6 separate regions of the Homo sapiens genome follow, and regions 1, 2, 3, 5 and 6 are each linked to region 4. The links are contacts of gene promoters, found by promoter capture Hi-C in blood cells and fetal thymus (Javierre and others, 2016). All regions are on one chromosome and are shown on one strand. Each heading gives the region's core, a stretch centred on a gene start or on the middle of the fragment in contact. The rest is flanking DNA. Distances are from core to core; before and after follow the strand shown.

Region 1 (4,146 bases), core at 436-2,935, 320 kb before region 4:
CTAATTAGCTTAGTAACTTTAGGACAAGTTACTTCACCATGGATTTTTTTTTTAATTGCATTTGTAAAATAAGGGATTTCAAACTTTTAAAAGCCTTTGGTGTTCTTTTTTAAAGGCAAAAGTGGAGCTGTTCTGATTAAAATTGGATATTGGAGCAAGAAAAGCATTTTCCTCCTCCTTTCCACAGTAGCTTTTGAGGCACTTTCACAGGGTCCTTAGGACTTCTGCTGGTCATGACTTGAAAACTTTTGTCCTTATTTATCTTAAGGGACCTGTCTGTCCATTTCTTTATCTCCACAAATAGCCATCTGTCAAATCTGAGCTCCTGTCATACTTTCTCTGAAATTAGCACTTAATTTGTGTTCAGTTACCCAATTCAGCACTTCATTATACACAGTCCTATTTTCTTCTCTAATTGATTATGTAAGTAAATCTTGTCCTAAGAGCCTTGAGTGCAGGAACATACTGGTAGGGACAGAGTAGGCCTAGACATTTAACAAATAATGAATGCTTGGTTGATGGACTTAGTGGTTCTCAATCTTTGTCACCATGGGGTGACCCATGGAACTTTTTCAACATAAGAAGGCCCAACTTCTAATACAGTAGAGGTCTGAAAATCCATACTTTAAAAAAGCTCTACAGGTGATTTGATAACATTAAATGATTACTTGTTGCACTTCAAGATTATTTATTGCTTAGCATACCTTGAATAATGGTTTTCAGTTAATGCACCAGAAAGGCCCTATACTGGAAAGACAGACTGAGAATTAGGAGACTTGGATCCTTATTCTGCTTTTAGCATTAACGATAATAGCTTTCTGATCCTGAATAAATCACTAAATTTTTCCAACCCATAGGATTCTTATTGATAAAATTATGGGCTGAGCTAGGTGAATAGTTTTCATACTTTTTTTTTCCTTTTTAAACTGGAATTATTCAGAAACATCTTTTGGGTGAAGACCAGTAAATATAACATATATTTTTATCAGTTCGGCTTTCATCTGGGTACCTGAATATTTATTAAAAATATAGAACATGGTAAGCTTGGTCCTGTCCTAGTAGGAGAGCTAAATTGTATGCAGTAGGTAGTACTGAAGATGGGATTTAGACTTTAAACTTGAAACATCCTATTAGAATGCGAATGAACAAAGGTAGTAAGCTTATCAATAATTGTGGTACTCAGTGTGAATAAAAACTAGATTATGATGAACCAATATGGCCAGTCTTTCTGCATTCATTTAATTCAACAAATATTTATAGAGCTTCTGCTCCTTGTAATGTACTGAGCACTGGTGGTAGAGTAATGAATAAGATAACATCTCTGCCCTCTCAAAATGTATATTGGTCAGTTGGGGAAATCATATGTTAAATAATACTGGTTGTAGTTTAATGAGTAGAATACGAGAGATTTGAAGTACCCCAGGAGCATAAGGTGGGGACTGCTAATCTGGACAAGAGGATTTGGGAAGGGGCTCTCTGAGGATATCATGTTTACAATGAGATGTGAAAGATGAATAGGAATTAATCAGTTCAAGAACTGGGAGTGAGAAGTGGAATTGAAAATGTTCTGAGCAAAGGGAACACTATGCAGACATCTCAGACATCCCTCATTATACACAGGGGCATACCACAAGGGGATTGGTTCCAGGATTCCCTACTCGTGTGCCCTCCTCCCCCAACACACACACACCAATATCAAAATCTGCACATGCCTCAGTCCTGCAGCAGGCCCTGTGGAACCCGAGTATGTGAAAAGTGTGCCTGGCCCCTGGGCCTCAGAGCCCCTGTGACTATGAGCTGTTTGCATCCCGTGAATTCTGTATTTTTAATTTGCATGTGATTGAAAAAACCTGATTTAAGTGGACCCACACAGTTCATACCCATTTTGTTCGAGGGTCAGCTGTACAATCACGTACCGCATAATGACTTCTCAGTCTATGGACCAGTATACAATGGCAGTCCCATAAGATTATAACAGAACTGAAACATTCCTATCTCCTAGTGACATTGTAATGATCCTGACCCTGTGTGGGCCTAGGCTGATGTCTGTGTTTGTGTCTTAGTTGTTAACAAAAACATTTAAAAGGTAAAAATTTAAAAAATTTAAATAGATAAGAGCTTATAGAATAAGGATATAAAGAAAAATTTTTTGTATAGCTGTACAGTGTGTTTGAAACTGTTATTACAAGAGTCAAAAAGTTTTTAACATTTTAAAGCTTATAAAGTTACAGTAGGCCCAGCGTGATGGCTCATGCCTGTAATCCCAGCACTTTGGGAAGCCGAGGTGGGCAGATCACCTGAGGTCAGGAGTTCGAGACCAGCCTGGCCAATAGGGTGAAACCCCATCTCTACTAAAGATACAAAAATTAGCTGGGTGTGGTGGCACACGCCCATAATCCCAGCTACTCGGGAGGCTGAGGCAGGAGAATCACTTGAACCCGTGAAGTGGAGGTTGCAGTGAGCTGAGATTGCGCCACTGCACTCCAGCCTGGGTGACAGAGTGTGAGACTCCATCTCAAAAAAAAAAAAAAAAGTTACAGTAAGCTAGTTAATTTATTATTGAACACAGACTTTTTCTCTTATAAATTTAGTGTAGCCTAAGTATATGGTGTTTTTAAAGTGTATAGTAGTGTACAGTAATGCTGTAGGCCTTCATATTCGCTCACTCGTCATTCATTGACTCACCCAAAGCAACTTCCAGTCTTGCAAGCCCATTCAGGTAAGTGCCCTCTACAGGTATACCATTTTTAAATCTTTTATACCATGTTTTTAACTATACTTTTTCTGTGTTTAAATATTTTTATTTTTTAATTTTTTTTTTTTTTTTAAGTAGGGTCTAGCTCTGTCACCCAGACTGGAGTGCAGTGGTGCAGTCACAGCTGACTGCAGCTTCTACCTTCCAGGGCTCAGATGAGCCTCCTACCTCAGCCTCCTGAGGAGCTGGTACCACAGGCGCACGCACCCATGCCCAGCTAATTTTTTTTTTTTTTTGTAGAGACGGGGCTTCGCCTTGTTGCCCCGGCTGGTCTTCAACTCCTGGACTCAAGCAGTCCTCTTGGCTTGGCCTCCCAAAGTGCTGGGATTACAGATGTGAGCTCCTGTGCCTGGCCTAGGTATTTTTAAATACACAAATACTTACCATTGTGTTAGGATGCCTGCAGTACAACAGTAGAATAACATGCTGTACAGGTTTGTAGTCTAGGAGCAACAGGCTATACCATATAGCTTAGGTATGTAGTAGGCTATACCATTTGGGTTTGTGTAAATATGCTCTGTGATCACACAATGACAAAATCATCTAATGACATAGCATCGTTAAGTGATGCATAACTGCACATACAATTCTTGAAACTAATGAAAACACAGCACTTTCAAGGAACAAAAGTTCAGCATAGCTGGTTCAGGAAGCATGAGATTTAGCTGAAGAGCCAAAGATGATTTTCATGTTATGAGGCTATTTGCATGATCTTTGTACTTTTTAGTGACAAGTCCACAGTTGGAAATTGTGGACGAGATTCCATACTTTTCAATAAATACATTGATTCCTAGTAACAACAGCAATAACATTTATCAAGTCTTTGTGCCAGTTGTTGTACTAAATGCTTTACATGCATTTATGTTAATTACAGTGACCCCCATGGGGTGTGTATTGTTATCCTATCTTTCAGGTTAGGAAACCGAGGCTTAAAGAGGCTAAGTGGCACACCTAGGTCTCTGTTTTGATTATAGCAGTAAGCAGTTAAGATCATTATCAGGCTCTTACCCGTTAATTTCTGCTTCAGGCCAGTGGAATGATGAAGCATATATCAAATGGAATTGGGGGATTGCAGAATTTCCACTGTTAAGATCTATAGATTTAACAGCTGTTATTCTGAGTTTAACCTCAGTGTTTGTACAGTTCCCAGGTCCAGATTGTGTGCTCTAGAATCAATTGTGCATTCTTATCTCTGTATTGCATTTTGGAGACACAGACAATTGATTATCAGATCTAATGTTAACTTAGCTTTCAGGATTTCTAGATGCTGACTATAAACGTTTTTGAAGTTGGTTGTATGCAAACTGCTGATCCTGGTAACCCATACATTCTCAACATTTTGGGTTTTTGTTAAGAATTGTATTTTAGGGTAGGTTTGGTGGCTTATGCTT
Region 2 (4,024 bases), core at 1,070-3,569, 360 kb before region 4:
GTGCACGCCACCACACCCAGCTAATTTTTGTATTTTTAGTAGAGACAGGGTTTTAGCATGTTGGCCAGGCTGGTCTTGAACTCCTGACCTCGCGTGATCTGCCCACCTTGGCCTCCCAAAGTGCTGGGATTACAGGTGTGATCTACCACGCCCAGCCAGGAAGGTCTCTTGAAGCTTCTCTGGCTCTATGGGCTGCTCAGTGGGCTTTCTGCCTTAGCCACCCCCATCCTACCATGCTTCTTTCTAGGGGACTCATCTTACATTCCATGGGGTGAGGGTGGGGTCTGCTTTTTTGCATTCTTTATTTTCTAGTTGAATTCTTTGCTTTCCTTTCCTTAGACCTGGGTTTTTCTCTAGCTGTATTCTCCCAGGTCAGGTCAGATATGGAGCTTGGACAACATATAAGGGTGCTTCTAGATTACTAGGAGGAACACTGTAAACATGGGAAGTCCTAAAATCCTCTCCCCAGAGATGTGGTTTGGAAGAAAGCTCAACAATCTGTGCATGTCATAAGTGCTGCAAGAAATTCTAGTGCCGGTGGTCCATGGGCCACCTGTGAGACCCCCCAGAGCACCTCTCACTGCTGAACTCCCAGAAAATCCCCCTGGCCCTCTTTTGCATCATTTCTCCCAACATGGGACAGCAGCTTGGCAGGATCTAGGTTACATGACAAACATTTAGTGAACAGCCCCACTTGGGCCAGGCAGTCACTCCTCTGGGACCCTATGACTCCTGCCTTTCCCCTCTCCTTCCTTTTACCATTCCCCCATTTTTGCTTCTCACTTCTGGCTCCTTTGCTCTCGCTGCCTACCTGAACTCTCTGAAGCCGCTGAACTTCTGAGGCTGGGAGTCCTCTTCTCTAAACTTCCCTTTCCTTAGCTGAGTGGGGACCTAGCCCCAGTAAATGGGATCCTGGCTCTGATACGTTTTGGCTGTGTCCCCACCCAAATCTCATCTTGAACTGCAACTCCCACAATTCCCACGTGTCATGGGAGGAACCCAGTGAGAGGTGATTTAGTTATGCGGGTGGGTCTTTCCTGAACTGTTCTCATGAGAGTGAATGAATCTCACGAGAGCTGATGGTTTAAGAAAATGGAAGTTTGCCAGCACAAGCTCTCTGTTTTTGCCGCCACCATCCATGTAAGACACGACTTGCCCCTCCCTGCCTTTTACCTTCCACCATGATTGTGAGGCCTCCCTAGCCACGTGGAACTGTAAGTCCAATAAATCTCCTTCTTCTGTAAATTGCCCAGTCTTGGGAATGTCTTTACCAGCAGCGTGAAAACGGACTAATATAGGCTCCAAAGCTTCAATCAAAAAGAAGGGAAGGTATGTGATTTGGCAGCCCAAGTAACTTCGGAGAATTAAAACGAATCTGACCCAAGAAGGAGTTTTGTATTTCCTAATTTAAAACAAAAATTTCTCCTTAAGTCTTACACTTTCTGAAAGTAATTCATTTGGGACATTGCTAGCATAGGACTGATACCTTGTACTAGAGAAAGAAAGATGAATTCAAGTCAGAAAGTTAGCATGCAAAGTCCAGTATGTGTGCAACCAGATCAGAAAGGGATATTTGATGGGATACATATGAAAGCAATGGTTAGAGAAAAATAAACCACTTCATGTTCATAGGGTTAATATTACTCAATAAACAAGTTAAAATTGGTGAGAGATTTCCTATATATTTAAGTGCAACAGCAAACTGCAGAACCATACGTACATCTATATTTATATAGAGAGTCAGCATTTGTGTATTAATAAAAAAGCCTATGCCCCTATGTATGTACATATTTGCTTCCTTTTGTATAAAGTGTCTCTGGAAAGACATACAAAACAGGTAGTAACAGTTGCTTCTGAAGAAGGTAACTGGGTAGCTGGGAAACTTACTTTCAAAATATCATTTTGTAGCTTTTGCATGTTGTATCATATGACTATTTTATCTATTCAGCAAATTTAAAATTAAAAAATCACCCTCTGCAAGTCCCTTCAGATTTTATTTTTCTAAGTCCAGATACAGCATTTTAAACATATTCCTGGATTTGAACACTAAAGACAAAAATGGAATTATGATAGTGAGGCCACAAAGGAGACTCAGGAACAACCTGTGGGTGTTAGGTTTAAAAATCTGGACAGAGTCTTTCTTTCCTGTGTGGATGATAGTTTTTTGTGATAGCTGAACACACCCCCTCAGGGAGAATGTAAGAGATGTTGACTGGTACTCAGAGAGAATGCCAGTTGCTGAGCATTCCACATTCCAACAAAAGTTCCCAACACTTCTCTCAGGCTCACCAGACTGGCTCTGCTATCCCCGAACCTAATGCCAACATCCTTCTTCCTAAGGCTGATAGGCAGTAGAGAGAGTTGGATGCACTGGGAGTGCAAACCAGAAGTCATCCTGTCCCACTGGTGATAGTTACCTGGTCAGCTCTACAGTCCAGGTGGTCTCTTGGTCCCCACCTTGACTTCTCTCCTCTCACTGTCAGGCCACAGGTACCACATCACATAACCTGTGACATCTCTGTTCTAGAAAGCAGAAACTGTGCCCTGTTCACTTTATCCCTAGCCCCCAGCATAGTGCCTGGCCCACTGTGGTACCGACTGTAATGATTGTTGGATGAATGAATGCCCCAACAAGTGAATAAACAAATGAATAAATGGCATTAAGCTCTTTACTGTCCAAAGTTCCAAGCCAAAAGAGATGTTTTCCTCTAAGGTGATAAGTGTCTCTATATCCAGCATATCCAGTGTTTGTTGACAGGGCCTCTCAGCCTTCACAGCACCTTGTGCAAATTAGGAAAGCACATGCCTCCAGGCAGATGTACCCATAAGCCATAGCTTGGTGGCAGAAGGAGCCTCTGAGAGAAGGTAAAAGTGCCTTTCTCTGGGAAGACGGCCTGGATTGCTGCATTCAGGTTAGATTTCCAGACTCATTCACCCCTAGGCTGGGCATCTCTATGCAGAACCCCAACCACACAACCTTGAGCAGCTACAGAATTCCTTCCCTTTACCTCACTTCTGTTATGCCATCTCCATCTCCTCCTCCACTGGTATTTACTCCCCCACATCTCTTCCCCATCCCCTTTACCCAAGGGGCCCCTCCCAGGCTATCTCTACTCCATGTCTCTTACTCTCTTCCCTTCTCAATCTCTCATCGAGATTTTTTTCTTTCCATATTTCCTGGCTGCTCATCCTTTCTTTCATCAGCACATACTGTGATTCACACGTTTTCTCATTCTTCTCTTGTGGTACCATATTGAAAAAGAGTTTGTTTATCCCATTTAACAGAAAATAAACTAAGACTCAAGCAGTTTATATAACTTGATGAGATCACACAAGCTTTAAGGAACAAAGTTAGTAATTTAATCCAAATTGAGGTGACATCAAACACAAAGTTCTGACTTCTGCTTCTGGCTATAATTGAATAACAGGAACCAGATTTTATCCTGCTGCCTAAAACAGTAACAAAAAGAGGGATGAGATATATGAAACAGTAGTTTCAGGACACTGGGTATCAGGTAACAAAGGATAGTGATCCTGCAGAGACAGAAAATAAAATTAATGAGCCCTACAATTACCCTAGTTTACTGCCTTGACACATTTTCCAAGCTATGGCTCAGGGAAGGGAAACTGAGGCAGAGACTGGTGATCTCATTGAGTTGAGGACACAAAACTAAGAGTCTGGGGAGACCAAAGCAGTCTAAGTTGAGAGGACAGAATATGAGACAGGAGAGAGGTGCACAGAAAGAGAATCTCAGAGCTCTGCAGAGAAAATACTGATCCAAATGCTGAATATGGGGAAGGAACCAACTTTAAGAGGAGGTTTTAAAGGACACAGTGCCTGGTTTAACACAGGGCCAGAAATTGTGCCTGAATTGTGTTTTTTCAGTCAGATTTTAAAAACTTAATTCATTTGACATTGGGTGGAGTATTCAGGAAGAAGGTCTTGCCTCAGTAGTGGAGAGTATTTAGCCCTAGGCTGAGCACTGCCCTGTTTCCACCTAACAAATCATAAAAGCAAGACCAA
Region 3 (4,073 bases), core at 1,004-3,503, 340 kb before region 4:
TTTAGTAGAAATGGGGTTTCGCCATGTCAGCCACGCTGGTCTCCTGACCACTCCTGGCGCTCCTGATATCAGGTGGTCCGCCCGCCTCGGCCTCCCAAAGTGCTGGAATTTCAGGTGTGAGCCACTGCACCCGGCCTGTTTACTAGTTTTACATTTACTTCCACCCTACTTCTCAAGCTTCTAATCTATAACTAGATCTTAGGAGAATGATCCAGCGGGTGGTTTTACTGACTTCCTGGTTGTAAGACTGTGTCTTTGTCTTCCTACTTGGCTAAATCTTCAACATCCTATAAAGCTGTAGCCCCAGGCAGAAGTTAGGCCACAATTTTACTCAGCCTCCATTTACAAAACTGTGTGGGAGTGTGAAATGACATAGGTACAAGGCTGTTCATTGTGATATTGAGAGTAACAGAGAACATTTATCTGTAAATAGCATGTGTACAGCAAGAGAGGACTCGAGTAAACCACGGTTCACGCACACAATGAACTACACAGAGCTATAAAAAAGAAAGTAAAATCTCCATGTCCTGATATGGAACAATCTTCTGTACATACAGTTAAGCGACAAAAGCAAGGTATAGAACAGTGCATATGGTGTGCTATCTTTTGTGTAAAAGGGTATGCTATCCTTTTAAGAAAGCGAGAGACACCACATGCCTGTGGTCCCAGCTACTTGGGAGGCTGAGGTAGGAGAATCACTTGAGCCCAGGAGTTTGGGCTGCAGTGAGCTATGATTGCGCCTGTGAATGTGAATAGCCACTGCACTCCAGCTTGGGCAACATCATAGAGAGATCCTGTCTCAAAAAAAAAAAAAAGGAAGAGAAATAAGAATATATATAGTTGCGAGAAGAGCCATTGGAAGAATACACAACAAACCAATAAAAATGATTTCCTAAAGAAGAGGGAAAGTGAGACTGGAGTAAACATGAGATTTCTCTGTATCATAAAATGCTATAGTTTGAGTTTTGAATTTTGATTTATGTAATATGTAGATATTAAAATATCTACCAATTACCAAAATAAAAAAAAAAAGAGTGTGTGTACCTGTGTGTAGAGGGCAGGATGCTTCCAAGCCCAGAGCCTAGTTCCAAGCCCATTTTAGCACCTCTTTGTGGTGCTAAAATTCCAAGTACCACTGCCTGCCTCAAGGCAGCTAACCTACTCCTGGTCTGCATTTATGTGCTCTTCCTGGTTTGTGGAAATGATTATTGCTTTTGAGTCTGTTTCTTTTTGGTTTTCTCTTTTTCTATTTCATCTGTCTTGCTGAATATTTGGAGCAGAGGAAATGTTTAGATTTGTGAAACTATTGTGCCATTGTAAGTCCTTTTCCTTTAGTTTTAACCCTTATTATTGAAAATCCTTTAAAAATATTTTTTTCTTACCTTACAAAGTCCAGCACACTCAGAATTACTAAACATTTCTCAGATAACAAAACATAATAGAATGAACTTTATAACCCTTAATTATCAGTATAAAATCATTACATTTCATAGAGTTTAAAATGTCATTGTAAGATGCACCATTATTTTATGTACCATTAGAAAATGCTGCCAAGGCCCAGCGTGGTGGCTCACGCCTGAAACCCCAACACTTTGGGAAGCCGAGGCAGGAGGATTGCTTGAGTCTAAGAGTCTGAGAGCAGCCTAGGCAACATAGCAAGACCCTGAGTTTACAAAAAATAAAAAATTAACTGGGTGTGGTAGTGCACACCCCTGTAGTCCCAGCTATTTGGGAAGCTGAGGTGGGAGGATCACTTGAACCCGGCAGGTCGAGGCTGCAGTGAGCCATGATCACACCACTGCACTTGGCCTGGGGGACAGAATGAGACCTTGTCTCAAAAACAAAAAAATGCTGCCAATTAAACTATGATACAGTGCTTTCTTATCAAACCTTTGTAAGGTGCATCTTGATGTCAAAGATATTAAAATGTGAAGAATTGTGCATCTGAATGAGTAAAATAAAGAATTATAGTTGTAGACTTGGAAAATAAAAAGGTTGAACTAAATGTGACTGATCCTAGGATGTTCCAGAAATCCAAAGGAAATATTTTGCCTAGAGTAATGTCAAGTATATGGTAGGTACTTGATGAATGTTTATGAATAAATAAAGGCTTTTTACAAGACATTGGATGGTCATTAAAACACAGCGAGAAGTAGGCAAGAAAATTTGTTTTAAAAATGTTGGCCAGGCGCGGTGGCTCACACCTGTAATCCCAGCACTTTGGGAAGCCAAGGCGGGTGGATCATGAGGTCAGGAGTTCAAGACCAGTCAGGCCAACATGATGAAACCCCATCTCTACTAAAACTACAAAAAAATTAGCCGGGTGTGGTGGCAGGCGCCTTTAGTCCCAGCTACTCGGGAGGCTGAGGCAGAGAATTGCTTGAACCTGGGAGGTGGAGGTTGCAGTGAGCCGAGATCGTGCCACTGCACTCCAGCCTGGGCGACAAGAGTGAGACTCCGTCTCAAAAACAAAAAAAAAAAAAGAAAAAATGTTAAGCATCGACTCTGTCTAGGCCTGTACTGTAACATTAAGAATAAGAAGATAAAAAAAAAGAAGATATAGTCTAGTCTTTGATAGTTTATACTCTAGTGAAGGAGACAAATGTAACACAGTCTGACAATCAGAGGAGAGATGGGGACTGAAGGAGTAGGTTGTCTTCAGAGGGATATTAATAGTTGAAATTGGGACAGATAATGACACCAAACAGGCTTGCAACATGAGAGGGACACAAGCAGAACCTCGGAGAGTACCTATATTTAATGGGAAGAAAAAGAGGATCCAGTGAGGAAAATCAAGACAGAGTTAGAGAGATCAGAGGAGAAATTGAAGAGCAATTTGTCATTGAGACCAGAAGCAGAGATGGCTTTGAGAAGGAAGGAACGATCAACATTGTCAAATTGCCGAGAGATGGGGCAAGATGAAGAGTGAAGATGTCATCAGATTTGGCAGTTAGGAGTTCATCAGTGGTTTCCAATAAAGTAATTTCAGTAAAATCATTGGAGCAGATGTCAGACTGTAATGGGTTGTTGAGTAAATGCAGGGAGAGTTTATCTAGAGAATGCTTATGAGGAAGAATAAAAAGAGGCAGGAAAAACCAGGAAGGGCAGAAACGTAGTCAATAAATGCAGGGGGAAAAATAGGCATCTCATTGCATGGAAACGAAGTGAAGGATTGAATGTCTAGATGCGAGGGGAAGGCAGGTTGGGGCAGAAGCTGGCAGCTAAGGCGGCGAACAAATCTGGGGGCTCAGAGAAGAAAGGAACAGAGGATATGCAATCAGGCAATCTTTGGTTCAATTCCTAGTTCTGTCCCTTACTGTGTAAACTTGGGCAAGTTACTTAATCTCTGCCCTTCAGATGCTAAAAAATAATCCTCAGAAAAAGGACAGATACTCCAACAACACTCCTACAGTAAATATGATAACTTCTAAGAGTTTTTTCTTCTTATGATTTTAATGTAGGCTGATGACATAAGTCCAAAGTACGATTCTAGGAAAGAATCTTACAGGGGACAAAATGATGTATTTCAAGTGCATGGCTTTCTGACAGTTTGGCTTTTAAGAGTATCTAGAGGTGAAATAGCAAATGGATTTTATATTGCATGCCAATGCTAGGAGATGCCAATGGCTGCTCAAAGCACTGGTTGGGTAGAATCATGTTTGAGCAAGAGTCTAGGCTCAGCATAAGAAAGGGTTATGGATTAAAGAAGTTGCCCAGGGGCGTGGAAAGGATAGTAAGTAGCAAGAGCAGTGCCATATACAGTATTTGCTGACACTGAATTAGAAGAGAAAATGGCTATGTATCCATCAGATAGTTCTCCATAAGTGATATTGAGCTTTTTGATAAGTAATGAATTGTAAAGATTTCCGAGAAGTAGAAATATTCTATGCTGTACATTAAGGGTAAGAACATAAATTACAGTAGTCAGCTACAGTCAGAAAGTGTGACATCCTTTTATGAATGTTAAGGCATGTGACCAGTTTACATTCATTAATTTAGCAGAAGGTCTCTCCACCTGCTCAAGGGGGAAAGACCATGGAAATATCTGAGGCAGGATCAAAATCTTCCTTGGA
Region 4 (4,187 bases), core at 879-3,378:
TCAATCTCCCTCCTCCCCCATTAGAATCATCAGGGAGTGGTTTGTGGGGAGGCGGGAAGGGGTGTTGTCTTAAAATAAAATGTGCTTTCAATAAAATACCTTGGCATCCCATTTTTAAAGCCTTCTTAGGTGACTATGATTTGCAGTCAAAGTTGAGCACCACTGATGGAGTGGAGTGAGTTTGTTTTGAGCAAACGCCTAAAGGTGTGGAATGGGCTGGGAATAAGAAAATGGTGAACTGGGGTGTATCTGCCTTAGCTAAAAGAGGGCACTGCTTCTGTTTTTGCTCAAAGAGTGCAGGCCCACAGTGTCACTGGATCTTCCCATTTTTCAAGAAAAGTTAGAGATTTACATTTTAAAGTAAAATCTAAATTTTAAAATGTTGGTAACAAATTCAAATTTATTAAAAACAAAACAGAACTTTGTGTAGGCCAAACCGGTCTGTGGGACATATTCAGCTGATGGGCCACCAGCCTGTGATAGGTGGTTTGAAGAAAGATGAACCTGAGATGAAACTAGGGGTTTGCCCGCTGGCTTTAAACAAGTTACTTAACCTAGGTAGGCCTCAAGTTCTTCATCTGCAGAATGGGGTATATAATACCTACTTCAAAGAATTAATAGAAGAGACAACGAATGGAAGGCAAATGGAAAAGTGATTAATCAAGCATCAGTTTCTTGCATCCTGTCTTTATCAACAATGTTGTACTTTCAGAGTTGAACTCAAATGTGAGAGCTTTGTCAAAAAGACCCTCCATCAAATCAGGCTCCATTCCTGGACTCTGTGTGTCTCCGGCCTCCCAAGCTGGGTGTCTGTGACCCCATCCCTGAGACAGCAGAGATCCATCAGAGTTGTAAGTGTGGCCCTGCACCAGAAGGTGGGCAAAGGGCGAGGAAGAGATACACCTTCAATCAGCTCTGCATCTTACTGAGGAGCCACTATGCCTGTGGAGGCCTAAAGACTGCAGTAATCATTGTAATCGTCCATGATATTGTACGTTAGCGTCTTGCTGCAGGAGGGAAAAGCTTAATTCAGGAAGGGTAAGAGAGTGAGAAACCCTGAAGTCACATATTAAAGTGCTTAAGTACCTAACAATCTCTATGCCCTGTAAAACCTTTAAGAATAGGAGCCCAGGCAGGGCGCGGTGGTTCACGCCTGTAATCCCAGCACTTTGGGAGGCTGAGATGGGTGGATCACGTGAGGTCAGGAGTTTGAGACCAGCCTGGCCAACATGGTGAAACCCCGCCTCTACTAAAAATACAAAAATTAGCCGGGTGTGGTGGCACGCACCTGTAATCCCAGCTACTCGGTAGGCTGAGGCACGAGAATCGCTTGAACCTGGGAGGCAGAGGTTGCAGTAAGCTGAGATAGCGCCACTGCACTCCAGCCTGGGCCACAAAGTGAGATTCTGTCTCAAAGGGAAAAAAAAAAAAAAAGAGAATAGGAGCACAGTTAATAGAGACACTGGGCCCCAAGACGACTGAGAACCACTCACGGATGAGAAGTCCTCGGGCTGCTGGCAGAGAATTTACCCCAGGTGCGTGGCCCAGTGGCGGAGGCTTGTGGGAAATTCCTGGTACCCAGCTGCCCAACATCTGGGACGCTGCAACGCCCACCTACCTGCCTGCGCGGCAGAGAAGCAACAGCCGTTCGAGCCACGCTCCACTTCCCGGGAAGAATTCTGGGGAGAGTGAAGGCTCGCTCTGTGGCCGCCCCGCCCACAGCCCGCCTGGGGAAGCCGCGGGCCCCAGCTCACCTGCAGGTTGCTCACGGAGAGCTGCAGCGGGCTCAGGTAGAAATAGGGCACGCCGCTGCCCGCGCCCGGGGGCCCGTCGCTGAGCGAGAGGACGTCGGCGAAGGGCCGGCCGCGCACCGCCTCCAGCGTGGAGATGGTGGCCAGAGCGCCCCAGTCGGAGACGTGCGTCACGAAGCGGGCCACGCGCGCCGCGTCCTCGCGGGGTGGTAGCGGCGGCAGCCGGGAGGCCTCGTCCCAGTCCCCGTGGTCCCGGCCGCCGCGACCCCGCGCGGGCGACACGAGCAGCGCCAACAGCGTCGACGCCAGCAGGGCGGCGAGCAGTGCGCGCGCGGACCCGCGGGATAGCCCGGCCATGGCGGTGTCTCCAGGAAGAGTCCCGGGCCCCAAGACCTGCAGGGACCCAGCCGGAGCTCGGCGCGCCCAGGCCCCGCCCCCTCCGCGAGGCGCCAATCAGAGCTAAGCACAATGCAGGGGGCGGGGTCCCTCTGCAGCTCCGCAACCTGCAGGAGAAGGGATTGGTTCATCTGCATTCCAATCGCTCTGCCTGCCCTCTTTAAGGATTGTGAATTTGTCCTAAACGGGATATTTGTTTTGTTTTGTTTGACAGGCGGAAAAAGAAAGGCTTGAAGAAATCAAGCAACTTGCCCAAATCGTACTGCTAGGAAAAGACCAGCCTCTTTACACAGGCACACACCCCCTCCTTTTAATACCTTTGGAGATGAATATCTGGCATCTGAGAGGAAATGCTGCATTTTCTACCCATGCGCCTCTTTTCTGTTGAATTTACCATCAGCTCCAAAGAACAGCGAGGGTCCCAGCGTTGTAGAAGCCCAGACTCAGGCTCGTGTACCCCATGTGTAGCTGATGCCAAACACTGACATATAGGTGCTTGGAGATAAAAGTTTATTCGATTTGGCCAAAGCGAGAAGGCGGGAGGGCAAGATCTCTCAAATCCGCCCTAACAAAAAGAAGAAGCAGAGAGTGTTTATGCGGCCAGCGAGTCAGGGAGGGGGAGTTTCAGGGAATCGAGGGAAAAAGTCTGTGTTTCTTCAGTCTCAGATAATTCCTTGAACAATCAGACTTCTGGGCGACAGAAGCTGGCCTCAAAGTACTTCAAAGGACTTATTCCTCCTGCAAACTTTTTCGTAACCCTGAAGTTATTATCTCCTCCTGCTTGATAAAGAAACAGTACATCAGCAGTTTATGATTATGTTGTAGGAACAAGGGATATTGGGCAAAAAGAGAGTTGTCAACATGTGCAAGCAAGGGCCTGATCAGAATTTTCATTATTTCAGTCACTAACAAATGCTGGGGTGCTGAAATCTCAAGGGGCCCACTTACACTAGTAGTAAAGTTAGGCAGAAGCCCGAAAGTTCAAGACCTTTAAAAAACTTTTTATTTACTTATTTTAAAATTTTTAATTTTTGTGGGTACATAGTAGGTGTATACATTTATGGGGTACATGAGATATTTTGCTACAGGCATACAATGCATAATAGTCATATCAGGGTAAATGGGGTATCCATTGCCTCAAGCATTTATCCTTTGTGTTACAAACAATCCAATTATACTTTTAGTTATTTTAAATGTACACTTAAATTATTATTGGCTATAGTCACCCTGTTGTGCTATGAAATACTAGGTCTTATTCTAACTATTTTTTGTACCCATTAACCATCCCCACTCCTCCCCTGCAAGTCCCCCCACTACCCTTCCTGGCCTCTGGTAACCATCCCTCTACTCTCTGTCTCCATGAGTTCAATTGTTTCCATTTAGGCTCCCACAAATAAGTGAGGATGTGTGAAGTTTGTCTTTCTGTGCCTGGCTTATTTCACTTCACGTAATAACCTCCAGTTCCAACTATGTTGTTGCAAAGACAGACAGGATCCCATTCATTTTTTATGGCTGAATAGTACTCCATTGTGTATATATACCACATTTTCTTTATCCATTCATCTGATGATGGACACTTAGGTTGCTTCCAAATCTTAGCTGTTGTGAATAGTGCTGCAGTAAACACAGGAGTGCAGACATCTCTCAATATACTGATTTTCTTTCTTTTAGGGATATACCTAGCTGTGGGATTGCTGGATCATATGGTACCTCTATTTTTAATTTTTTGAGGAACTCCAAATTTTTTTCCAAAGCGGTTATTCTAATTTACATTCCCACCAACAGTGTACAAGGGTTTCCTTTTCCCCACATCCTCACCAACATTTGTTATTGCCCGTCAAGACCTTTTAAACTACTGGCCCAGGAGTCCCTCATATAGACGCACAAAGGGATTGTTAGTCTACTATCAATATCCCATGTACAAATTTGAACTTACCAGTTCAGGACCTGTTAAGACATTAAGCTTGGGGTCGGCGGTTTCATGAATTTATTGCCCCCGCTGCCCTTCCCTGCTCCATGTAAGGGACATTCCTTTTGCTT
Region 5 (4,645 bases), core at 1,995-4,494, 310 kb before region 4:
GTGCCCTTCAGTGAAACTTTTTTTTAAAGGATCTTTGTATGTTACCTTATGGGAAACTCTAGAAATCAACTCTAAAAATGAAATTTTGAGTAACAATTTTTAGAATGGTTGTTAAAATGGCTAAAAGCTATTATGTGACTCAAATTTCTTTTTTTTTTTTTGTTTGAGACAGGGTCTCATTCTGTCACCCAGCTGGAATGCAAGTGGCATGATCGTGGCTCAGTGCAGCCTTTACCTCCTTGGGCTCAAGTGATCCTCCCAACTCAACCTCCCGAGTAGCTGGGACCACAGGTGCACCACCACCATGCCTGGCTAATTTTTTTTTTTTTTTTTTTGAGATGGAGTTTTGCTCTTGTTCCCCAGGCTGGAGTGCAATGGTGTGATCTCAGCTCACTGCAACCTCCACCTACCCGGTTCAAGTGATTCTCCTGCCTCAGGCTCCCGAGTAGCTGGGATTATAGGCATGCGCCACCACACCCAGCTAGTTTTGTGTTTTTAGTAGAGACGGGGTTTCTCCACATTGGTCAGGCTGGTCTCGAACTCCTGACCTCAGGTGATCCGCCCACCTCAGCCTCCCAAAGTGCTGGAATTACAGGCATGAGCCACCACACCTGGCCCAGCTAATTAAAAAAAAAACTTTTTTTGTAGAGATGGTTTCACTGTATTGCCCAGGCTAGTCTCAAACTCCTGGGCTTAAGCAGTCCTCTTGCTTTGGCCTCCCAAAGTGTTGGAATTACAGGCGTGAGCCACTGTCCGTGGCTCAACTCAAATAATTTCTGAAAATTGTGATAGGATTTTATTGTTTATGGTAGTCATTCAGTCTGAACAAGAAGCTATGTTTTTCATACTCAGTCCTTACTAAATGGACAGACAAAAAAATACTTTCTGAAAATCTAAGTTTATTTCTGCTTACAAATCTAAAAATAAGCAAGGTTATTGAGAAGAATTTGATGTCAGTTAAACTGTATTGTAATATCTAAGATTCATGTACAAAAATAGAAGTAATGATAATAATGATAGAACATTAAACAACAAATGAGCCCTTCTATCAGATTTATTGTTGTTGAGAAGGTTGTCCTTAAGTCACTTTGAATTTTTTTTTCATGAAGACCCACCTAGGAGATTTCTTTCAAATCCTAAATACCTGAAAAAAGTTTTGCTTTTCTTGAGAAATCAAATGCTGCTGTTCCCCCTTTCCTCCTAAAGCAAAGTTTAGAACATTTTCTTCTTTGCTTTAGCCACCAGGAGTCTTAGTGCCAAGTTTATGCCTCAGTTGAATAACTTTACATATTTACATTCGAAATATATGCTCATTTAATCTTCTATATTGTTCCTTGTTTCTGATTTCTGTGTGTTTTACTTTTCTCTTTAGGTCTTTGCTTAAAAAATATTGAATGAAATTATTATTATAAAATTTTTTAGTGAACTTAGAAAATTGTTAGCTTCACAAATAATCTAAGAAGTATAAATTAACACTGAGAAACATTTAAAATCAGATTGTAAGAAATGAAAATAATGATGATTTTCAGTGCTGACTGACAAATGCAGTAAATTGGACACTCATATCTGTTAATGGAAGTGTAAACCTGTGCAGTCTTTTTGTAGTGACTTAAAACATATACCTTAAGGAAATTCCTTAAGTTTGGAAAAAGCTATGAACAAAGGTGCTTATCTGTCCTTCATTTTAAAAAGGTGAAATTTGGAAATAACCTAAATGGAACTGTTAAATGAGCTATTATATACCTATGTACTTTATGGAAGGAGTAATACTGTATTTTTAAAAATCATCAAAATGAAACTGACCCAGTAATCCCATAGACAGTAAATCGATTAGTTTATACTTTTAGATGCTTTAGGATATAAATAAATTGGTAACTATGAACCACGTGCTATAGAGTTTAATGCTAAATGTAATTTTACAAGTAAATCAGGTTATATATATATGTGTGTGTGTGTGTGTGTGTGTGTGTGTGATTGAATTTTTTTTTTTTCCTTAAAGAAACAGGGTCTCACTCTGTCGCCCAGGATGAAGTGCAGAGGTGAGATCAGGGCTCACTGCACTCTCAACCTTCTGGGCTTAAGTGATGTAACTGCCTCAGCTTCTCAAGTAACTGAGACCATAGGCGTGTGCCACCATGCCTGGATAATTTTGTTTTATTTTTTGTAGAGACGGTTGCCCAGGCTAGTCTCAAACTCCTGGCCTTGAGTGATCCTTCTGCCTCGACCTCCCAAAGTTCTGTGGGATTACAAGTGTGACCTGCCACACCCAGCCTGTGATACAATTTTTATATCTCCGAATTTTAAAATGTTTGGATTTGTAAAGGATTCTTCTAAAATGGCATATATTCTAATCTTTACCTAAATTTCCTCGTTACCCAACTTTTTCCTCATCCAAAGCTTCTTTTTGTTGTTGTTTCAAACCTGAAAATATCCATCCCCACTTGAGTTTCAGTTTTGAGCTATATAGTACTTACTAGGCTTCTATCAATTGGAACATTGACCTGTTTATAGTTTTTTTTTAAAATTCTGTCTATAATACAATGATCCAGTATACATACTATTCCATACTGTTAACTTTGGTGTAGGAATTCTGTTGTTGGTCAGTAAGGTAAGTGGAATATGTCTTTATGACTTATTGGAAAAGACAAACCTAGCTTGGCTTTTCTACGTGTTTTACATATGTACCTTTGAAAAGGTATGCTTAAATATTAAACAAAAAGTACAAGTAGAATATTTATACCATGCAATCAAACTGTGCAGATTTTGAATGTTTAAATTTTGCCATGTTTAACTTTTTTAAGGTTGCATGCAGAGAGATAAAACAACAATGGACACTAGTCAGATTCTCATAACCAGTGAGGGGGAAGTATCTTTTTCTAATAATAGAATGATCTTTGGTTTGTGAAAAGAGGTGTGTAGTTGGAAGTTAATGTATTTTTCTTTACAGAGTATACAGCAGTTTACTCCTTTTAACCTGTTATCAGATTTATTTTGGAAAGAATTGTGTGAGTAATGTTCTGAATTTAAAAAAGCATTGCAGGAAATTGATGTGTGATTATTCTTTTGAGTACAGTGCCCTTTAAGAACTCAGTGGGTAGTTATGTTTACTTGTTTAACTGCATCACATTTATTCATGATAGACAAGACAGCAAGTTAGTAGATGAACTTAATGGATGAATTTGTTTTGCTTTGTTATACCTTGCAAGAAAGCACAAAACAATCATCTAAGGCTTTATCGTCTAATTTCCATCAGGTACTGTGTTACACTGATTTGCATACATTGCTGGACTTATTTTTAACAGCCCCCTGAACTTTAAATAGAAAAGGTAGCTCCTATCCTGGAAGAACTCACAGTTCGGTAGGGAAAGGGAGGCAAGGAGCAGGAACAGATGAGTCAACTGAAATTATAATACCCTGTGATAAATGCTGTGAAGGATATAAATCCTGTATGCTATGGAAGTAATGGAATAGGTTCACTTAACCCAGTAGTTTGTGGGGAGGAGGGAGAGGAAGAGTCAAGAAAGACTTCTCAAAGAAGATCCCCAGAGCTGAGGGATAATAGGAATTAGGTTGGGATAAGGCGGTTGAGGGGAGTATGTTCCTTGTAGTACTGAACAAACACAAGAGCATCTAAGAGCATTTCAGTCTTTTAACTACAATAATAGGTAACATTTAATATACAGTGCTTATTATGTGCCAATTGCTATTCCAAGTGCTTTGTATTTTCCATGTATTAACTCCTTTAATTTTCATAACAACTTTATTATGTAGGTATTATAATTATCCCCATTTTACAGATGAGGAAACTGAGGTACAGAAAGAGAAAATAACTTGTCTAGGATCACATGATGAGAAAGTAGAAGAACTAGGATTTAAACCCATGTTGTCTCATTTCGGAGTTTTGGCTTTTATTATGAGAAAAGTTAAACTCTGGATTGCACCGGAGATAAGTACCTGGGGTGAGAAAACCTTTTCAATTAATTCTTCTTACTGAAACACATATATTATTTTCTTAAAATCTGAAGCAGTGGATCCTATCCATTTTTTTCTGCCTCTGTAAGAATGTTTGGCATCCTTTATCTTCTCATCTCCAAGCTTTCCCTAGTAACCAGCCCTCTTAAACTTCAGCATTCTCGAACTTCTCCCTTCTGTTTTCTCTAGATACCAGCCTTTTGCTTCCCCTTATCTCCAGACTTCTTTGTAAACTCCTCTAAACTCCCTGCCTCTGCTATATAACTTTCATTCCCTCCTCATCCCATTGAAATCTGGGTTCTAAAGAGAGATTTATGAGGAAACTTGCTAGGCAGTGTAGGGTTATGCCTTCTTTTTGTTTTTCTAATAGTGCTTGACAGGTCAAGGTGTAGAAGTAGGAGTGGAGATGGCAGCCCTCCAGGATTGGGGTCTTTGTTAGGATGTGGAACAGAAGGACAGGGGAGCAAGGGAGTGGAAAGTCTTGACAGGAATGTCATTCATGGACCCTGTGGTCTCAGTAGAATTTAGAAGGAAGTGAAGACGGGAGTGAATTGATGGTCTAGGGGAAAATGGAAGAGCAGGAGGTCAGGTGAATTGCAGAAAAGCTCTTTAATGGGAGTAAAAGAGCCAGAGGTCTGGGAGTATTGAGGTAGTATTGGGAGAGTTTAAAGTT
Region 6 (4,195 bases), core at 849-3,348, 260 kb before region 4:
TCAGGAGTTCGAGTCTAGCCCAGGCAACATAATGAGGCCCCATCTCTACAAAAACAGTTAAAAATTAGCCAGGTGCTGTGGCCTGTGCCTGTAGTTCCAGCTACTCAGGAGGCTGAGGCAGGAGTGTTTGTGCCCAGGAGTTTGAGGTTACAGTGAATTGTTATCAGGCCACTGCACTCCAGCCTGGGTGACAGAATGAGACCCTGTCTAAACAACAGCAACAACAAAAAAACAAAGATTTATGTCTACTTATAGGCTGCTGAACAAATTTTAATTTAGATATTAACTGACCTTGCCCCCTCCTTACCAAGATCCTAATTTTTTGTGTTTGATTTATAGTTTGGATCTAGAATTTCCGTTCAAAATGTTCTCAGATTTCACAATCATTAAATAGAAGACAGTTCTAAATTTATTATTTGAGAACCTGTGCTAATCTTGGGGGAAACATTATAACAATAAGTAAAATGGAACTCAGTGCTCTTTAAATGGCCAAGAACATCACAAACCGGAAGCTTGGTCACTTGTGGTCCTGACTTGTAAAAAGAAGTATTTGCTAACCATGTTTTTATTTTTATTTTTTTAAACTATTGAATTTCAGGTAGTCTATGAGGGGAGTATACTTGTAGTAGCATTTTGCTAGATGAGCTGCCTTTATTCCAAATCAATAAATGAGTGGTCTGAGCACATGTTTCTTTTTTTGAAATAGTTTCTTTGAAGTTTTATTGTGGACTTAAATCTAATATCCCTGACGTAATATTTATTGACTTTCTAGGCATCATTCATTCATTCAACAAATGTTTCTGAGTGCTTGTCAGATTCTACCACTAAGGTTGCTGTACTGAACATGACTTATAAGGTGCCTGTGCTCAGCAAGCTTACCTTCTAGTGAGGACTAAACAGAAACCAGACAAGTGAACAGGGTTTAAATTTAGGAGAAGTACATACAGAAAATAAAATCAGGTGATGTGATAGTGACTTCAAAGGGTCTCTCTGAGGAGGTGACATTCAGACAAAGACAGAGGCCTGGGCAGAAGCATCTTCAGTGGAAGGAACAGAAATTCCAAAGGCTGTAAGGTGCTTGTGAGTGAGTTTGGTGTACATTTACATGGTGCTGTAAGTGCTGAGAGGGTATATTAATGTGATGGTTTAATGTGACTAACATATTTTGTGGAAATTAATTTTGATTTTATGATCAATCACACCAGATTGCCATAACTTAAAATTTCTATCTCAGGTCTTAGGAGTTACACTAACTTTTACTCTGTTCTATATTTGGCCAGTGGAACTCAAACCCATTTGAAAACGTTTGGTCTGAGATGTTCATTTATTTGCTGGCTTGTGTTCTGTTCTCTTTTAGACAGTTTTTTTGTGACCCCATTGTAATGTAAAAACATTTAAATATTTGCCAAATTAGTTGAATTATAAATCTACATTTTTACATAGGGAGACAAAATATAATGAAAAATAATTATAGTAACTTGGAAGAGACTTCAAAAGCAGTATCCAAAACTGCAAATTATGTTATACAGTTTAAGCACTTAGTTCATTTTCTTTGTAATAAAACTTATTCCACAAATACGTAATTATTTACAGGATTCCTACATAAATAAGGAACTACTAAGATTGCATGAAGGCTGGGTGCGGTGGTTCATGCCTGTAATCCCAGCAGTTTGGCAGGCAGAGGCGGGTGGATCACTTGAGCTCTGGAGTTTGAGACTAGCCAGGGCAACATGGCAAAACCCTGTCTCTACAAAAAATACAAAAATCAGCCCAGTGTGGTGGTGGTGGTGTGCGCCTATAGTCCCATGTACTTGGGAGGCTGAGGTGAGAGGATTGATTGAACCCAGGAGTTTGAGCCTGCAGTGGGCAGTGATCGTGCCATTGCACTTCAGCCTGGGCGACAGAGCAAGGCCCTGTCTCAAAAAAAAGTGTAGCACGAAAACCACATGTTCTCTTTTGTGTTGAGATATGCATATGATTATACCCTTTTATCAAAATTTAGTAAAAGCATTTCTTAGCTTTTGCTCAAATTACAGATTCTATATGTCTGTCCTAACTTGTCATCCATCCAGCTGAAGCGTCTCAAGGTCAGAATCATGTCTGTTTCATCTTTCTGACCCCATGGAGCAGAGTACAGTGCCTATGCATAGTAATCTCTCAAAATTGTTTGTTGAGTGAGTGAATGTGTGAACATTTTATGAAATTATCTTTAAGAGTAGTTACTCATGATCAGTATACTTTAAAAGATCGGCAAAACATTGATGACTTTTTAAAAAGTAATTTTGGCCAGGAGCAGGGGCTCATGCCTGTAATCCCAACACTGGGAAGTGAAGGGGGGAGGATCACTTGAGGCCAAGAGTTCAAAACTAGGCTAGTGAACGTAGCCAGACCACATCGCTACAAAAGAAAAATTTTAAAACCAGCTGGATGTGGTTGGCATGTGCCTATAATCCCAGCTACTGGGGAGGCTAAGGCAGGAGGATTGCTTGAACCCAGGAGTGCAAGGCTGCAGTGAGTTACAATTGCACCACTGCACCCGGCCTGGGTTAAAGAGTGAGACCCTGTCAGAAAAAAAAAAAAAAAAAAAAGTCATTTCATAAAATTGTTGGAAAATATGCATTTCTGAAGGAGAGGCGTCAGTGTGAAGAACACTCATCTGAACTAAGAATCAGAAAATGGATCTGAATTTCAGCTTTGCTATTCATTCAGTGTCCTTAAATAAATCATGCAACCTTGCACATCATTTTCTTATTTATACAATGAAAGCATTGGATTGATCATTGCTAACATTTCTCTCTGCTCTAAAACTGTGATTTTTATCCTTTGCTATTTGCAAGAACCAGAAGAGATAAAGGTTGCCTTTTATGTTAGATTTGATTCTAAATCTAATGATATAGGACAGCGGTGCTTAAGCTATTTTTGTGAAGTGATAAGGAAAAACCCTGGGAAAGGTTCAGTGGTGGTTTGCACAGCTGATTATTTGTTATGATTAATTGTTCCACTTTTATTTTCTTTTGTGGCCTGTAACCTAATTTTTCACTTAGTATTGGGATTATTTTAGTACAAACAAGTGATATATTTGTAAGAAGGGATCCAGAGAGTATGGTAAAATGTCTGGATGCTGATGTTCTCTAAGTTAAAGGAGATTCTAGGGGGTAGTCTATAATAAAGGAAAAACACATTTTTTAAGGTTTTAATTTTTCAGAGTGCAGGGAGGTGCTAGGTGCTTTCCTCACATTAAGTATAACATTTCCTTTTACAGTATGTCAGCATATTGTTGAAGTTTTCCAATATGAAAATAATATCTATTTACTAGCATATTAAAGCTTAGCAAGAGAATTTTAATAGCCTCATTTAGCCTCCTAAACAGTCAGAGGCAGGGAAATATTATTAGAGTAACAACACTGTAGGTGCTCTCTTTTGTCTCTAGTAGCAAAATGAATTCTGGCTACCATGTACTGTAGGAGTGCTGCTGGCTTGAGGCTCCTGAGATCTGGCATGGCTGTTATACTGACTTGTTTTCTTTCAAATTCATGTTAGAAAAATCTGTGCGTGTGTGTGTGTGTGTGTCTGTGTACACAAATATTTATATTACCGTGTCTCAGTGCTTTGAGACTGTGTGAGGCGGGGGAAGAGCTGTTGAGGCTTTTTATAGATAAAGTTGATAATGCTTTTTTGACTTGGTTTTCTGTTACCATCTTTTTTGTCTCTATTATGATATCTATTATATAAGTCAGAAGGAGAAATGACACAAATGCCAGTATACCAGTTCAAGATAGGATCTTGGTTTGATTTAGCTAAAATTTACCCTACTTATTGGTGCAATTTTTAATAATAGAAAACCATTCCTCATTGCTTGGAATTTTTATCTGCACTTTCCATTTTGAATATTATTGTTAGTTGTTGAACACCAGGTTTACTCTGCAGGACACCAAGCAAAGCTTTAGAAATTTCTGCCATCATTAAACCCTGAACAGACTGATAAGCAGCAAAATTGAATCAGTTTAAAAAAAAAAAAAAACTTGCCAACAAAAAAAGTCCAGGACCAGATGGATTCACAGCTGAATTCTACCAAACATTAAAGAAGAATTGGTACCAATTCCAAAAGATTGAGAAAGAGGGAATCCTCCCTAAATCATTCTATGAAGCCAGTATCACTCTGATACCAAAACCAGGAAAGAACATTTAAAAAAAA

What was found. The method cuts DNA at HindIII sites, captures the fragments that hold promoters and counts their contacts. A CHiCAGO score of 5 or more calls a contact.
Region 1: a fragment that was not itself captured here is called in contact with the fragment with the promoter of CREG1 in region 4 in 10 of 17 cell types (fetal thymus, total CD4 T cells, neutrophils and 7 more); the score reaches 11.9 in fetal thymus.
Region 2: a contact is called between a fragment that was not itself captured here and the fragment with the promoter of CREG1 in region 4, in 3 of 17 cell types (total CD4 T cells, naive CD8 T cells and fetal thymus). The highest score is 6.8, in total CD4 T cells.
Region 3: a contact is called between a fragment that was not itself captured here and the fragment with the promoter of CREG1 in region 4, in 8 of 17 cell types (fetal thymus, activated CD4 T cells, neutrophils and 5 more). The highest score is 8.1, in fetal thymus.
Region 5: a contact is called between a fragment that was not itself captured here and the fragment with the promoter of CREG1 in region 4, in 12 of 17 cell types (total B cells, naive CD4 T cells, fetal thymus and 9 more). The highest score is 8.9, in total B cells.
Region 6: a fragment that was not itself captured here is called in contact with the fragment with the promoter of CREG1 in region 4 in 6 of 17 cell types (fetal thymus, total CD4 T cells, total CD8 T cells and 3 more); the score reaches 7.4 in fetal thymus.

Annotation. Positions count from the first base shown.
Region 1 is chr1:167,230,328-167,234,473 of GRCh38, forward strand. All of the region lies in intron 1 of POU2F1 (POU class 2 homeobox 1), which reads left to right. Among named protein-coding and RNA genes, the nearest start is that of POU2F1, 12 kb to the left of the region's middle. The HindIII fragment of the contact is 1,057 bases long and covers 1,158-2,214 here.
Region 2 is chr1:167,189,882-167,193,905 of GRCh38, forward strand. The region is part of intron 2 of LINC01363 (long intergenic non-protein coding RNA 1363); the gene reads right to left. Among named protein-coding and RNA genes, the nearest start is that of LINC01363, 3.9 kb to the right of the region's middle. The HindIII fragment of the contact is 2,029 bases long and covers 1,306-3,334 here.
Region 3 is chr1:167,211,112-167,215,184 of GRCh38, forward strand. No RefSeq gene overlaps it. Among named protein-coding and RNA genes, the nearest start is that of POU2F1-DT, 7.4 kb to the right of the region's middle. The HindIII fragment of the contact is 4,156 bases long and covers 176-4,073 here.
Region 4 is chr1:167,551,634-167,555,820 of GRCh38, forward strand. CREG1 (cellular repressor of E1A stimulated genes 1) reads right to left here and starts at 2,129. Exons shown (of 4, transcript NM_003851.3): 1 at 1,755-2,129. The coding sequence starts at 2,108. RefSeq lists a silencer at 1,818-2,267. The HindIII fragment of the contact is 3,087 bases long and covers 1,022-4,108 here.
Region 5 is chr1:167,245,096-167,249,740 of GRCh38, forward strand. The region is part of intron 1 of POU2F1 (POU class 2 homeobox 1); the gene reads left to right. LOC124900412 (a long non-coding RNA gene) reads left to right here. Exons shown (of 2, transcript XR_007066718.1): 1 at 1-4,645. Among named protein-coding and RNA genes, the nearest start is that of POU2F1, 27 kb to the left of the region's middle. RefSeq lists an enhancer at 4,606-4,645. The HindIII fragment of the contact is 1,698 bases long and covers 2,396-4,093 here.
Region 6 is chr1:167,288,477-167,292,671 of GRCh38, forward strand. The region is part of intron 1 of POU2F1 (POU class 2 homeobox 1); the gene reads left to right. LOC124900412 (a long non-coding RNA gene) reads left to right here. Exons shown (of 2, transcript XR_007066718.1): 2 at 1-4,195. Among named protein-coding and RNA genes, the nearest start is that of POU2F1, 70 kb to the left of the region's middle. The HindIII fragment of the contact is 2,452 bases long and covers 873-3,324 here.